Linked DNA regions of Homo sapiens: region 1 is linked to region 2. Evidence: promoter capture Hi-C in 16 types of primary human blood cells and fetal thymus (Javierre and others, 2016). All regions are on one chromosome and are shown on one strand. Each heading gives the region's core, a stretch centred on a gene start or on the middle of the fragment in contact. The rest is flanking DNA. Distances are from core to core; before and after follow the strand shown. Region 1 has its middle 46 kb from the start of NTS. Region 2 holds the start of TMTC2 (transmembrane O-mannosyltransferase targeting cadherins 2).

What was found. Contacts are between HindIII fragments. The CHiCAGO score rates a contact against its expected background, and 5 or more counts as called.
Region 1: a contact is called between a fragment that was not itself captured here and the fragment with the promoter of TMTC2 in region 2, in 1 of 17 cell types (total CD8 T cells). The highest score is 8.2, in total CD8 T cells.

What each region holds. Positions count from the first base shown.
Region 1 is chr12:85,916,784-85,923,404 of GRCh38, reverse strand. No RefSeq gene overlaps it. Among named protein-coding and RNA genes, the nearest start is that of NTS, 46 kb to the right of the region's middle. The HindIII fragment of the contact is 598 bases long and covers 2,837-3,434 here.
Region 2 is chr12:82,681,237-82,688,156 of GRCh38, reverse strand. It overlaps TMTC2 (transmembrane O-mannosyltransferase targeting cadherins 2), which reads right to left and starts at 1,251. Exons shown (of 12, transcript NM_152588.3): 1 at 488-1,251. The coding sequence starts at 570. RefSeq lists silencers at 231-290, 651-700, 1,271-1,370, 2,221-2,300 and enhancers at 1,411-1,620, 1,641-1,790. The HindIII fragment of the contact is 3,615 bases long and covers 428-4,042 here.

The sequences.
Region 1 (6,621 bases), core at 1,886-4,385, 3.2 Mb before region 2:
TAGGAACCTGTGAATGTTACTTTATATTGGCAAAAGAAACTTTGCAGATGTGAATAAATTAAGGATTATGAAATAGGGAGATTATCCTGGATTATTTAGTGGACCTGGATTATTCTGGAAGGGAAACAGGAGGAGTAAAGTCAGAAGAGATGGCTACCTAATGAAGTAAGGAGAAATTGGAGTAATGGGCTTTGAAGATGGAGGAAAGGCTACAAGATGACAAACCATGGAATACATGTGGCTGCTTGAAGCTGAAAAAGACCGGGAAGCAGACTCCTTGGTCCGAGACTCCTGAAGGAGCTAGCCCTGCAGATACCTTGACTTACCTGATATGGTTTGGCTGTGTCCCCACCCAAATCTCATCTTGAATTATAATCTGGGTTGCAAGCCCCAGGTGTTGAGGGAGGTACCTGGTGGGAAGCGATTGGATCCATGGGGGCAGATTCACCCATGCTGTTCTCTTGATAGTGAGGGAGTTCTCATGAGATCTAATGGTTTTATAAGGGGCTCTTCCCCCTTCACTCTCTCTTGCCTGCCACCATGTAAGACATGCCTGCTTCCTCTTCTGCCATGATTATAAGTTTCCTGAGGCCTGCCGAGCCATGCGGAACTGTGAGTCAATTAAATCTCCTTTGTTTATAAATTACCCTGTCTCGGGTGGTATCTTTATAGCAGTGCAGAAACAGACTAATACACCTTTTTAGACTGATTTCAAACTTCCGGCCTTCAGAACAGTAAGACAATAAATTTGTGTGGTTTAGGCTAGTGAATTTGTGGTAATTTGCTACAACAGCAATAGAAAACAGACAGATACTTTGCTGCAAATCATGAGGTCTCTCTTTGTAGAGTGGTGACGGTTTTCATTATAGTTGAAATAGCCCTGTGATTTCACCAAGGATTTTGATGCTGTACATATTTACTGTTTAGTCATTAGCATTTCATAAGAAAAAAAAAGTTTATCAAGGAATTTTACTGAAAAGTTACTCATTTTGAAATCCTAGTTCTCTATTAGTGTGGCTTATTAGAAAAGTTGTTGACAGAATTTTTCACTGAATTCTTTCTTAGTATTGGTTAGTTCATTAAAGGTCTTCATTAATTGTACTGCCAAATATTTTGCCAGCATGTTTTCACCAGAAAAAAACTCACTGGCCCTGGTCCCACTGTGCATGTCAGGAATATAAATTTTTATCCTTCCCTTATTGTATTCTGGACTCTCTCTTGTTAAAAAGTGCCCACATTAAACAGTTAATCAGTAGAGGTTTTAGGAAACCCTACACGGCAAAGAGCACCAGGGCACTGCAAATGCTTACAAGAATTCCTACGCAGGGTAAATTAGGAGGTCCTATGACATGGTTTTTCCAAAGACACAAGAAGCCTATAAATACACACACACACACACACACACACCACCACCACCACCGCCACCGCCACCGCCACCGCCACCGCCACCACCACCACCACCACCACCACCACCACTTTTGGAACCTAAATCCCTTGAAACAATTTTCTATTTGTATATCTCTTACCAGACTGCTTGATATCCTGTTTGGGGGGCATGGGGGAGGCTAATTTTGGTAACATGTTATTATTTGCAGTGATTTGTCAGATTGAGCAACTGGGGATTGCTTACTTTAAGTGGCACCTCTCTCTCAAAGAATTTCTAAAATGGCACTGTTGGGCCTTCCTAGAAGGAGCAAGGATATAAAGACATCTGTTTCATTCATGGGAAAATTGAGAACTTTTTTTTTTAATGTCTAATGTTTGAACTCATGGAAGGAGAAATCCTCTTTCTATAAGTTTGCCAGCCCACCTATCCATCTATCCATCCATCCATCCATCCCTCCTTCCCTCCGTCCATCCATACATCCATCCATTCATTTAGTCATTCCTTCACTTATTTAATAAATGTTTATTATGTTTTAACAAATTTGACTTCCCTGGACATATACCAGGTTTTCTAAGTATATTATAATTTCCAGGGTTTCCTTCTCTACTAAGCCTCAGAAAATCATATATAAAATATATGACCTTATATACTAGTTGGTAAGGAGATGAACAACTTAAAGGTGGTAGCTTTATAGCTTATTTTGTACTGTTAAACTTCATTAAATGAAAATTATTTTTATAAATAAAATTATTTTTATTCCAATTTGGACACAAATAAATATATAAATATAATTTTTTAATTTTAAAATTCAAAATATATAATGTGATATATGGTCATTATTCATTGAGCTCAAATTTTATTGGTTATAATATTATGCAAGAAATGCTGGCCTACAATGTTAAAGAACGAATTGGCATTTCTCTTTTCATATGAGTTGAAAAATTTGAATAGGGGAGACTATTCAAAGCTTGGCCAGATACAGCAAAAAGATAGAGAAATAGGGGATGGGGAGACTATTTTGTATTTGTATTTTGTATTAGCACCATTTTCTTATGGTGGCTCAGCAAGGGAATTCTGAGCTAAACTGAGGGCTCCTTGCAATTAAAAAGAAAAATATTTATTTAGAATAAAAGCCAGAGTTATTTAGTAGGGCACATATTCTTATTAAATACTGTCTAGACTGTATAGTCTTTATAAAGAAATTAATATCCTGTTGATGCTGTATGTTTGTCTTCAAGTATGTAAGCAGAAATTTAGCCATAGTCACTGCTAGTGGGAAGGGTCTGAATTATTTCCCCTCCTGCCTTCCACAGAACTAGTGATTATCTCTCTAAGCAGATGAGCAGAGAAAATGAAAAAAGAAAGTAACATTAAAATGTATTCATCTCTTCTCTCTTTTCAGTATTTGTTGACTGTTAAGGCTTTCTGACATCAAAGGTTATAAAAGCTTTGCTTTTCATATCTGTTGTAACCACTAGGTGGCAATATAATGCAAAAAATAAAAATATATTTTAAACGCCCTCTTTAGATTTGCTTATCGTCACAGGTAGTCTTTTCCGTGCATCTCTGAAATTTGTCTATAATTCCAAAATTAGATCCTATAATCTATGCACCTATCTTTGTATCATTTTTATTTCTCTGTTCACATCCTTGAAATTATGAATTGTGCAAGAAAACCCATCTGCCTTATACTCCTAAATATAAGATTATTTATAGATATACAATCACAACAATAAGTTATGCTAATGGCAACTTTAAAATGCCATATAAGGTGATGTAATAAAGATTATTGGAATGTGTAAAGATAACTTATAGGTTCTCTTTTTCCGGTACGATCAGGAAATGAAGTTGTGTTTTTTAGTTTTTAAAGAGAGTAATTAACTTGACTATTTTCCAAGATAATTAAAATGCTATAAAAATATTCTGTATTTTTATCTCATCTTTGATTATTCTAAAGGAGGTCCATGTGAATTAGGCCCCAGGATTTACAATGCCTCAAAGTAACTGAGGAGCAAAGGTTAACTCCACAGTCAGAGAACTCGAAGCTTTTGAATATACTGACATCAGGCCTGGCGCGGTGGCTCACTCCTGTAGTCCCTGCACTTTGGGAGGCTGAGGCGGGTGGATCACGAGGTCAGGAGTTTGAGACCAGACTGGCCAATATGGTGAAACCCCGTCTCTACTAAAAAAATACAAAAATTAGCTGGCGTGGTAGCACCTGCCTGCAGTCCCAGCTGCTCGGGAGGCTGACGCAGGAGAATCGCTTGAACCCGGTAGGCGGAGGTTGCAGTGAGCCGAGATCGCGCCACTGCCCTCCAGCCTGTGTGACAGAGTGAGACTCCATCATCTCAAAAGTAAATAAATAAATAAACTGACATTAAGTTTCTTTATCTATAGCACAAATGTGTTTAAATAACCTGCCACTCATCAAAATATCTTTAATTATCTATTATTCTTTTAAATTTATATACCAATAGTCATTCTAACCTATTTTCACCACCATAAAAGTATTGAAGTAAATGGAGACAAATTCTTGATAAATTATTGTGACGCTCCTTTCTAAGGCAGATGATATAATCTTGCATACAGAAAGCCCTAAAGATTCTACTTAAAACATCACTTAAAATGAATAAACAAATTTAGTAAAGTAGCAGGATACAAAATCAACACAAATTATTTGTGACCCTATACTTTAACAATGAACAATCCAAAAAGAAAATTAAGAAAACAAATCTGTTTACAATAGTACCAAAAAGAAGAAAATACTTAGGAATTAACCAAGGGAGTGAGAGACTTGTACAATGAAAACTACAGAACACTTATGAGAGAAATTAAAGAAGACATCAATAAATGGAAAGATATCCTATATTCTTTAATTGGAAGACTTCAAATTGTTAAGATGTCAATACTTCCCCAAACAATTTAAAGATTCATTGCAATCCCTATCAAAATCTCGACATTGTTTTCTAAAGAAATAGAAAAATAAATCCTAAAATTAATATGTAACCTAAGGGGCCTCAAATCACCAAAATAATCTTGACAAAAAAGAACAAAATTGGATTACTCATACTTTCTTATTTCAAAACTTACTACAAAGCTACAGTAATCAAAACATTGTGGTACTGGAATAAAGACAGACTTACAGTCCATTGTAACAGATTAAAGATCCCAGAAATTAATTTTGGCATATATGGTCAAATGACTTCCTTAGTGGTGCCAAGACCATTCAATAGTAAAAGAACAGTAAAAGTGGTGCTGGTAAAAAGATAACTTACAGAAGGAAAAAAAAAAAACAAAAAACAGCTTTACAAATCACATGTCTCGTAAGGGACTAACACCTATAATCTGTAGAAGACTCTTAAAACAGCAACAAAAACCCCAATTCAAAAATGGACAAAGGACTTAAATAGGTAAATATATTTTTAAAAATCAAGTATATTTTTATGAAGTGATAACAAATTAAGTTATTGTTTATAAGAACAATAACAATATTATGTAGAAATAAATTTAACAAAACATTGCAAGAGCTCTATGCAAAATTATCTTTTTTTACTTTTGAGGGAGATTAAAGGAGTGTTAGAAAAAAGATATGCCAGGTATGTGGATTATAAAATTCAATATTTTGAAGTTGTTCATTTTTCTAAAATTGATCTACAGATTTAATGCAATACTTATAAAAATCCTTACAGGTTTTGTTTGTATGTGTGGTACTTGACAAGCTAATTCCAAATTTTTAATGGAATACAAGGGTAACAAAAATAACTAACATTCTTGAAGAAGAAAAAAAGGTAGGAGGGTTTGTTTAATGAACAATCAAGATTACTACTAAGTTGAAGTGATTATGAGTGTGATATTACTTCAAGGATAGAAAATTGCTAAATGCAACTGAGTAGAGTATTACACACTATAAACTAAGTAAGTGAACACTTAATTCATGATAAATTCGGCACTGTAGAATAGTGGGGAAGTAAAAGCCTTTCAATAAATAATTCTGGGAAAAATGAATACTCATCTGGAAAAAAAAGAAAATTCATCCTTTCTCTACATTGATACACAAGTAATTTCAAGGTCAATTTGGGATATAAATAGGAAAGGCAAAACACTAAAGCTCTTAGGAGATAACAAAATAAAAATTCACAAGATGATGGATGTTGTCTTAAAAACAAGGATTGGCTGCGTGCGGTGGCTCACGCCTATAATCCCAGCACTTTGTGAGGCTGAGGTGGGTGGATGATTTGAAGTCAGGAGTTCAAGACCAGCTTGGCCAACGTGGTGAAACCTCATCTCTACTACGAATACAAAAAGTAGCCAGGCATGGTGACACATGCCCGTAATCCCAACTACTCGGGAGGCTGAGGCAAGAGAAGCACTTGAACCTGGGAAGTAGAGGTTGCAGTGAGCCAAGATCACGACACTGTACTCCAGCCTGGGCAACAGAGCAATACTCCATGAAAAAAAAAGAAGAAGAAGAAGTATAGAAGTATTAAGCATTAAAAATATTTACAAATATTTTACAAATACATGACTACATTAAAATTAAAATAATTATTTCTTTTGAGCCACCATTTTAAGAATGAAAGATGCCACAAATTAGATTAAGAATATGTTTATAGTGCATATCATCAATAGAGCATGTATAGTTTTTTCTTATTGATTTCTAGGTAATTTTGTCACCTAGGAATCAAATAGATAAAAAAGATTTCACTACAGAACAACAGGCAAGAGACTTGAACAGGCACTTCAAAATAAGGATATTAAATGGACAGTAAAGATATGAAAAGGTGTTCAACCTTATTAGTTATCAAGGAAATGCAAATTAAAACCAATATTCAATACCATTGTGTACACCTGAGAATGGCAAAAATTAAAAAGACTGACAGGTCTTTAATAAGACCATAGGTGAAGATACAAAAGAATTCTTATACACAGCCAGTGAAATTATAAATTGTCATAACATCTTTACAAAGTAGTTCAGCTTTCTAGTAAAAAAAATAAAAATGAAAATAATTAGTAACAACAACAACAACAAAACCCTAACGTCCATCAAGGGAAGAATGAATAACATATATTATGAATTTCATTTAGAGATAAAAATAAATGAATTACAGTTACATATAAAAATATGGATGGGCTGGGTGTGCTGGCTCAGGCCTGTATTCCTTTTAAACTTTGCTTATCAGATAATTTTCCAAACTTTGTGTGAAATATTTCCTCAGAGCAGTGGGCCCAGAGGC
Region 2 (6,920 bases), core at 2-2,501:
TTTTCACAATTTTGGCAACTATCAAACGTGTGTTTTAACTTCGGGAAATAAAAGTGTCCCATCAATAAAAGGAAACGGGACAGGGAGGATCTATCAGGGATCGAGGAGAGGCTTCCTCCCAACCAGACGTAAAATCACTTAATGTGCTTTGTTGCATCAAGGAATACCTAAGACTTTAATTTAATACGTTCATTAAACAGTTTCCCAAATTGCCGGGATTTCCGCTAAGAAACTCAAGCGTCTGCCAACAGCCGAGAAGCAAGGGAGAGAACCTGCTGCAAACTAGGAGCGGAAACTCCCTCGGCCCGCCCAGCGCGCCTCACGTCCCCGGTGTTTGATTTAGGTGTTAATGTTTACGTGTCGCCTAAACCATCAGGTGCTGAACCAGTTCCTCCAAGACGCACTTTGAGCCTTAAAGAGGGAAGCTTCAGAGCCACTGCGGAGTGTGCCCCCTGCAGCCCGTCGCCCCCTCCTCTCGGCCCCTTACCTGTCATCATAGCAGAAATCCGCACTCAGGGTGTTGAGATACAAGGCGAGCCCCAGAGCGCTGCTCACCAACTCTGCAATCATCTCTCCACCGCCTTCCCTCCGGCTCGGCTCCCAGCGCGAGGGCAGCAGCGGCAACAAAAAACAGAAGCATCAATCTCCACCTTCCGCCGCCTTCTCCTCCCAGCTTCACTTTTCCCTCGCTTCCCCACCCTCCCTCCCTCGGGTCCTTCCAATCCACGACTCCTCTCCTCCTCCTCGCGCCCGTCTCCGCAGCTCCTGCGTCCTCCCCGGGTGCGGGCTCACACCACACTCCCCATGCCCGGCGCCCGCAAGCGGTGAGCGGCGTTTGGGCTCCGCGTCCCCCGGCGGAAGCGCAGGGCTGGTCTTTCGCGCGGGTCGCGATCCCCACCCTAACCCATGGCAGTTTGGGGCGTCCTAGGTGAGGAGTGGGACTCGGAGGAGGTGGAAGGGTGCGGGATGGGGGCAGAGGGACCGGACCAAGCCGGGCTCTGGGACCAGCTGGAGGAAGAGAGAGAAAGAGGCGCGGGTGGGAGGGACAAGGCGAACCGCCTCCCCTCGCCGCCTCCCGGGCGCACTGCTCCGGTGTCGCTCGGGCGGACTCCGGCCGCCAAGGCAGCTGCTGCACATTCAATGTTTATTAGCTCCCTCCCAGCCCCAGCCCCAGCCCCAGCCCCAGCTCCCTTCTCCAGTGAAGTGAGAAGCGGTGGCTGGAGACTCCAGAAGCTCCCGCGTGGGGTTCTCGACGCGGCCCCCCGCGCCTGCGTGACCAACCCTCCATCCCGGCTTGGCCCAGCCCCTTTCTCCACCCAGATCCTCCCGGAAGGCTCCTCCTACCCTGCCCCTCGGGCTGGAGGCTCCTCCCACCCTCCCCGGCCTGGAGGCTCCTCCTACCAGCCTCCCGTCCTCTTGTTTCTTTCACCTTCGATTTCACTCTGGAAAGCCCCCGGGACCCAAGGGCGACGGCTGGAAGACAGCCCAAAGGAGTAGATACAGTGCACCCTGGGAGGGGAAGCTGGGAGAAAGGAGGTCGAGGAGGAGGTGGTCGGTCGCCCCGCTGCTGCCTGGCAGCGCCTGGCACGGCTGAATCTCAGCCACAGCGCTGTGTGTGCCAAGAGCTGCCAGGCGTAAGTCCGGTCAGCTGGAGAGACTTCTGAGACCGGGAGAGGAAGAACAGGTTTGGCGACTGCTGCAGCTTCGGTTGTCACAAACTCACTGGCGATCTCTCACGCACACTGTGTGTGAGACTAAATGGGGGGGAGGAGGTAGTATTGGAGAGCTTGGAGGCAACTTAGGAAGGAGAGATTTCAGCTCTTAGCCTACGGTTGGCCACAATGTCAGTGGAAAGACGTGTAGGGAGAGAAACGTTTCCTCCTTCAGTAAGGTTAAAAAGAAAGGACCCCAAAAAGGGAAAGAAAGACACACACACACCCCGCAGCAACTGCCCGGGGACCCCTTCGTGGTTTCAGAGGGACTGTCGGGTTGACCCTGAGAACACAGGAGAGAAACCTCTAGTGCAAGCCGGTACAGCATTATACTTAAACCTAGTAAGGCAGTAAGCTAATGCCCTTTCCTTTCCGCTCGGAGGCAGGACTGGATGGAAAGCATCCAACATGGTGAAATATGGTGTAGAATGGTCTGTGTAGAACAAGCTCTGGGTACTAAAGTTGCAAGACCAAAGAGGACCCAGGGCTGCCTGACACGCCTCCTCCCGGCTTGTTGGCTTTCTGGCCAGGAGAGTAGCTCCGGTGCACCGCGATGTACACTACTGCAGCGCCCCCTGCTGCATAGTAACCACAAGGTGTGGAAGACAGGTCTGTTTTGCATGCGGGCCGACTGGTTCCAACCAAGAGCAGCACCTAACCAGCAAGCTCTCCGAAACTGTGGCAAGAAATTGAGCCCCCTGGGTGTCTAGCAGTGGCCTGGAAAGAAAATACCGTGGTCTGGGCTTCTGTAGAACAAAGCTACATATTTCCCTGATTTCACAAGGAAATCTGAGAAATCTGTATTGGATACACACAGATAAAATGATGAATATTTATTAATATTATACCTGTTATGCCATCCACAGTAGCACATTTTTTGTGCCCTGGACAAATATATGTAAACAAAAATAAAAGGAATTATGTCTTTACAGGTAGGGACTGATCTTTTACCCTTTTCCTCCATAACCTTTGCTCACTTGAAAATTTTGAAAATCATATCAGTTAGTCCATCCTGATGCTCTGTGTCTCTCCAATGCACTTACATGCTGAGATATATATAGTATATATAAAATATGTATATGGTGTCCTAGAACACTGAAGGAAGAACACATACTGTGGGATCAGATGTTTAAGTTTGAGTGCATACTCTGCTATTACTATTTGGGCGATCTTTGGCCAGTCGTTCAACCTCTTTGTGACTCTGTTTTCTAATCTATGAAACAGTGATAATAATAGTACTTATCTTATGAGTACTGTTATTATGAGTATTAAAGTAGTTAACCTATGTAAAATATCTAAAAGGGACCAGGAAAGTGCTACAGAAGTATTAGCTAGTATATCATTATTACTATGCTTTCTAGCTTCCTCGTTTCATTTTACTTGTTAACAAAAACCTGGACAGTTACCTCCAAAACACATCCTATCACATCTTTACTACTTGAGTCCACAGCCCAGCTGCCCTCATCTCCTGCATAGACAAATGCAGTAGCCCTCTAAGTGGTCCCCGTACTTCTACCCCTGCAATGCCTCCCTTCCCCAATTTTAACTTTAGGCAGAAGTTTCCTTTGAAAACCTATACATTCCCAATTTTTAAATGTTCCACAACTTCCTGTTGTATTTTTAAATGTCCAACAACTTCCTGTTTTACAGCTAATAAAACTAATTCTTACCATGGCCAGCCAAGCCTTCATTTAGCCCAGACTACCCCTCCCGCTTCATGTTGTGTTCATATGTGTACAACACAGACATCCTTCTCAGGAACTAACCACTTTCTCTTCCTCCTGCATGAGGTTCTTCTCCTCAAACCTTCTCTAGCTCCTTCTCACCATTCAGGTCTTAGCTCAAATGGCATAACCTCAGAAATAAAGTAGGCTCTCCCCCATCAATCTCTATCCAACCACCATGTATTAGTTTCTTCATAGTATGTATTAGTATCTGGAAGCACCACTGAGTGGAAGCTCCATGAGGTCAGGGATCCTGTCAGTCTTCTTTTCCACATAAAACCCAGAGCCTATAACATCTGGACACGGAGAAGAAACTTTAAAAAGATTGTTAATAAATGAACAAAATAAATGTGCTTAGGAGAAACTACGTAACAGCTGGAAAATCCAAAAATTTTCATCGCTGATTTATTGTTTGTCGTTAGTGTTAAAGATCGTGAAGTATTAACCAAGGAGAGAGGAAGGGAGCAGGTTCACAGTTTTTCAGAATACATCAAGTCTGCAGGAATACCCGTGAAGGGGAGTCACATGGACAGGTCTCTTCAGTTATTAAGAGGACTCAGATATGTAAAAATATTAGAGAGCTTTGGGTTCCACATGCTAAAAGCTTGTAAGCCTTTTCCACAGCTGTGTTCATTTTTAAGGCTCCAATAGTTTAATTTAATTTTTAATTTTTTTTTTTTTTTGAAACAGAATCTCACTCTGTCGCCCAAGCTGGAGTGCAGTGGCCCGATCTTGGCTCACTACAACCTCTGCCTCCCGGGCTCAAGCGATTCTCCTGCCTCAGCATCCCCAGTAGCTGGGATTGTAGGTGTGTGCCATCAAGCCCGACTAATTTTTGTATTTTTAATAGAGACGGGGGTTTTACCATGTTGCCCACGCTGGTCTTGAACTCCTGACCTCAAGTTATCCACTTGCCTTGGCCTCCCAAAGTGCTGGGATTATAGGCATGAGCCACTGCGCCCAGCCATGGCTCCAATAGTTTTAAATAAATTTTATACACTCCTCCATCTCCTCGTTTTCTCCTTTCCCCACCTCCCAATACCTCTGAATTGGAAGCCTAGGTGACTGGGAGATGGGCTGTAAAATGGCACATCTTGCCTTCCCTGATAAACAGAAGGCTGAAAACCTAGCTGTGTTTGAGAAATCCAGTTGCTTTTAACAAATTTTTCTATTATAATTTAATGTAGGTTTCAATATCCTTCCAGAGCATTAAGCCATGGTCTCTTTTAGATTGCTCTCCAAGGGCTGAGAAGCAGCCAATTCCTGAATTTTCTACCTTCCTGGAACAACTTTAGGAGGAAAATCAGATTAAAGATGTCATCATTATTGTTGGAGATCATTTAAAATCTGAGGACATAGGTTTTTAGTTTATCAAGGTGTACTTATTTGATGTAAGGTTGCAGCATCAGTTCTGAATATGTGTATGTTCTATTTAAAGCGACAGTTGCTCTCCACAGGTGAAGGAAATTAGGATGGCTGGCTTGAATTTTCTACCTTAGACACAATACTGGCCAAAAAAGCGCTAAGCCCTTATTTTCCTGAAGTAGGCTCCACACATCTGCTACCTCACCACTTCCTCAATGAATTCCTTTTTATAGTAGCCCCGACCTACCCTGCATTTGTTCTGCATTCTCAGTCCTTTGTTGTATAATTCATACCTTTGCAGTGCCAGTTCCTCAGGGTAAAGATTTCCTTATTTGCCTAAGACATTTTTAGTTTATTGTGCAATACTATCTTCCCTTTGGGTGTTGCATAAATATTAACTAAAGATCCACATCTGGTCCTGGTCGTCATTTCTATTTGTCCTAATATAACTTCTCTTTGAACAATTCATTTGGAAAGTGTGCCAAGGGTGAAATGTGGCACGTAAATTCTCTTGCTGCACAGAATGCTTTTTAAAGTGCCCACAGATTTGGTTATTTATGAGCAGGAGATTTGCGCCTCTTCCTTGCTCTCTCAATTCTAAAATTGTACTGGGCCAAAATAATTACAATCTTCCATATGTTTTCTGAAAAGGTATCCAAGTATCTCCTGCTAAAATTTTAACAGATTGACTAAGAAGCAGAAAAACACTAGCCCAGCAGGTGAAACTGCCTGTTTAGGGAGGTCAGAACAGAGCTCTCTGCTGGGGGACTCATAAGCTCTGGGATTTACTCAGGAAATAACCCTGCAGGAGAAAAACAGCAGAGCATGGATGAAATGTGGGTCAGGGAGCTGAGACAGGCACATGGGCGGCTTGGTTAACTAATGACTGTAAATGCATTGGCAACACATGTTACATTTAGATTCTTCCCAGCATACCATAAAGTGCTGCCCTGCAGACACTACAATGTATAACATCACTTTATCCCAAGACTTGTGATCCATTAGGAATAGAAGTAGAACAAGGCAGCCACGGAAACAGATCTTGTCACCTGTGTCTCAAAACAGGGACTGTTAAGAACCAGCTGCTAGCAAAATAATGATCACTTTAAGAATCTCACAGTCTCCCCAGCTTCCAAGTCTGAGAATGTGGGGGTGAGGGAGGAGACAAGGAGGAGGAGGAGTATAGAAATAACATGTTAATAACCAGATATGAATAATTGCAGAGATGTTGAGGCTAATGATAGAATTCAAAAACTCAATCAAGAAAAGCAAGGACAGCCTCCTTTATAGAATCTCTCTGAATGCATTCACATGCACTGATATAAACAGTGATCAAGAATGCTCTAACAGCTTGAAAAATTGCACCATCAGGAAACAAATTTTGATAAGCCTCAGATTCTTTAAGGAAAATTAATTTTGACGTGGACATTAGTTAAATTCACCAGCTATTCATGAATGTTGCCTTGATGTTTAACCCATATGAAACTTTTAAGCCAGTGTTGTCCAGCAGAACTTGCTGCAGAGGTGATTTTCTGTTGCACTGTTCATTAGTTATATGTGGCCATTGAGCAATTGAAATGTGGCTACTGTGACTGAGGAACTGCATTTTTAATTTTGTTTAATTTCAATTAATTTAAATTTAGTGACATGTGGCTAGTGGCTAATTTATTAGACAGAATAGCGTAAGCTGTCGGCTGACCAACACCACTTGTGTTTTACGGTGGATTTCATGTAAAAGCCAGTTAGTTGTCAACATCCTCCCACAGGTCAAAGCTTTAGCCCTGAATCATTTGATGTGAACTTCTGTGCTCCCCATGGGTGACCTGCTTTTATTTATAAAACGGCTACCAGCTATTGAGCATTTTTCTAGGTATTAGGCATCATACTAAGCCCCTTATATTTACTATCTCATTTAATCGTCATAACAGCACAGGGAGGTAGGTACCATTACTATCTGTATTTTGCAGATAAGGAAAAGGAGACACAGAGAAGTTTAGTAAGTTGCTCATGGTCTGAACAACCTCTCAGTGGTGGTGCTAATATTTTAACTTATGTCTTTTATTCCAAAAGTCTGTGCTTCAACCACTACTCAGTAGTCTTATTCCTTATTTTTCCATTC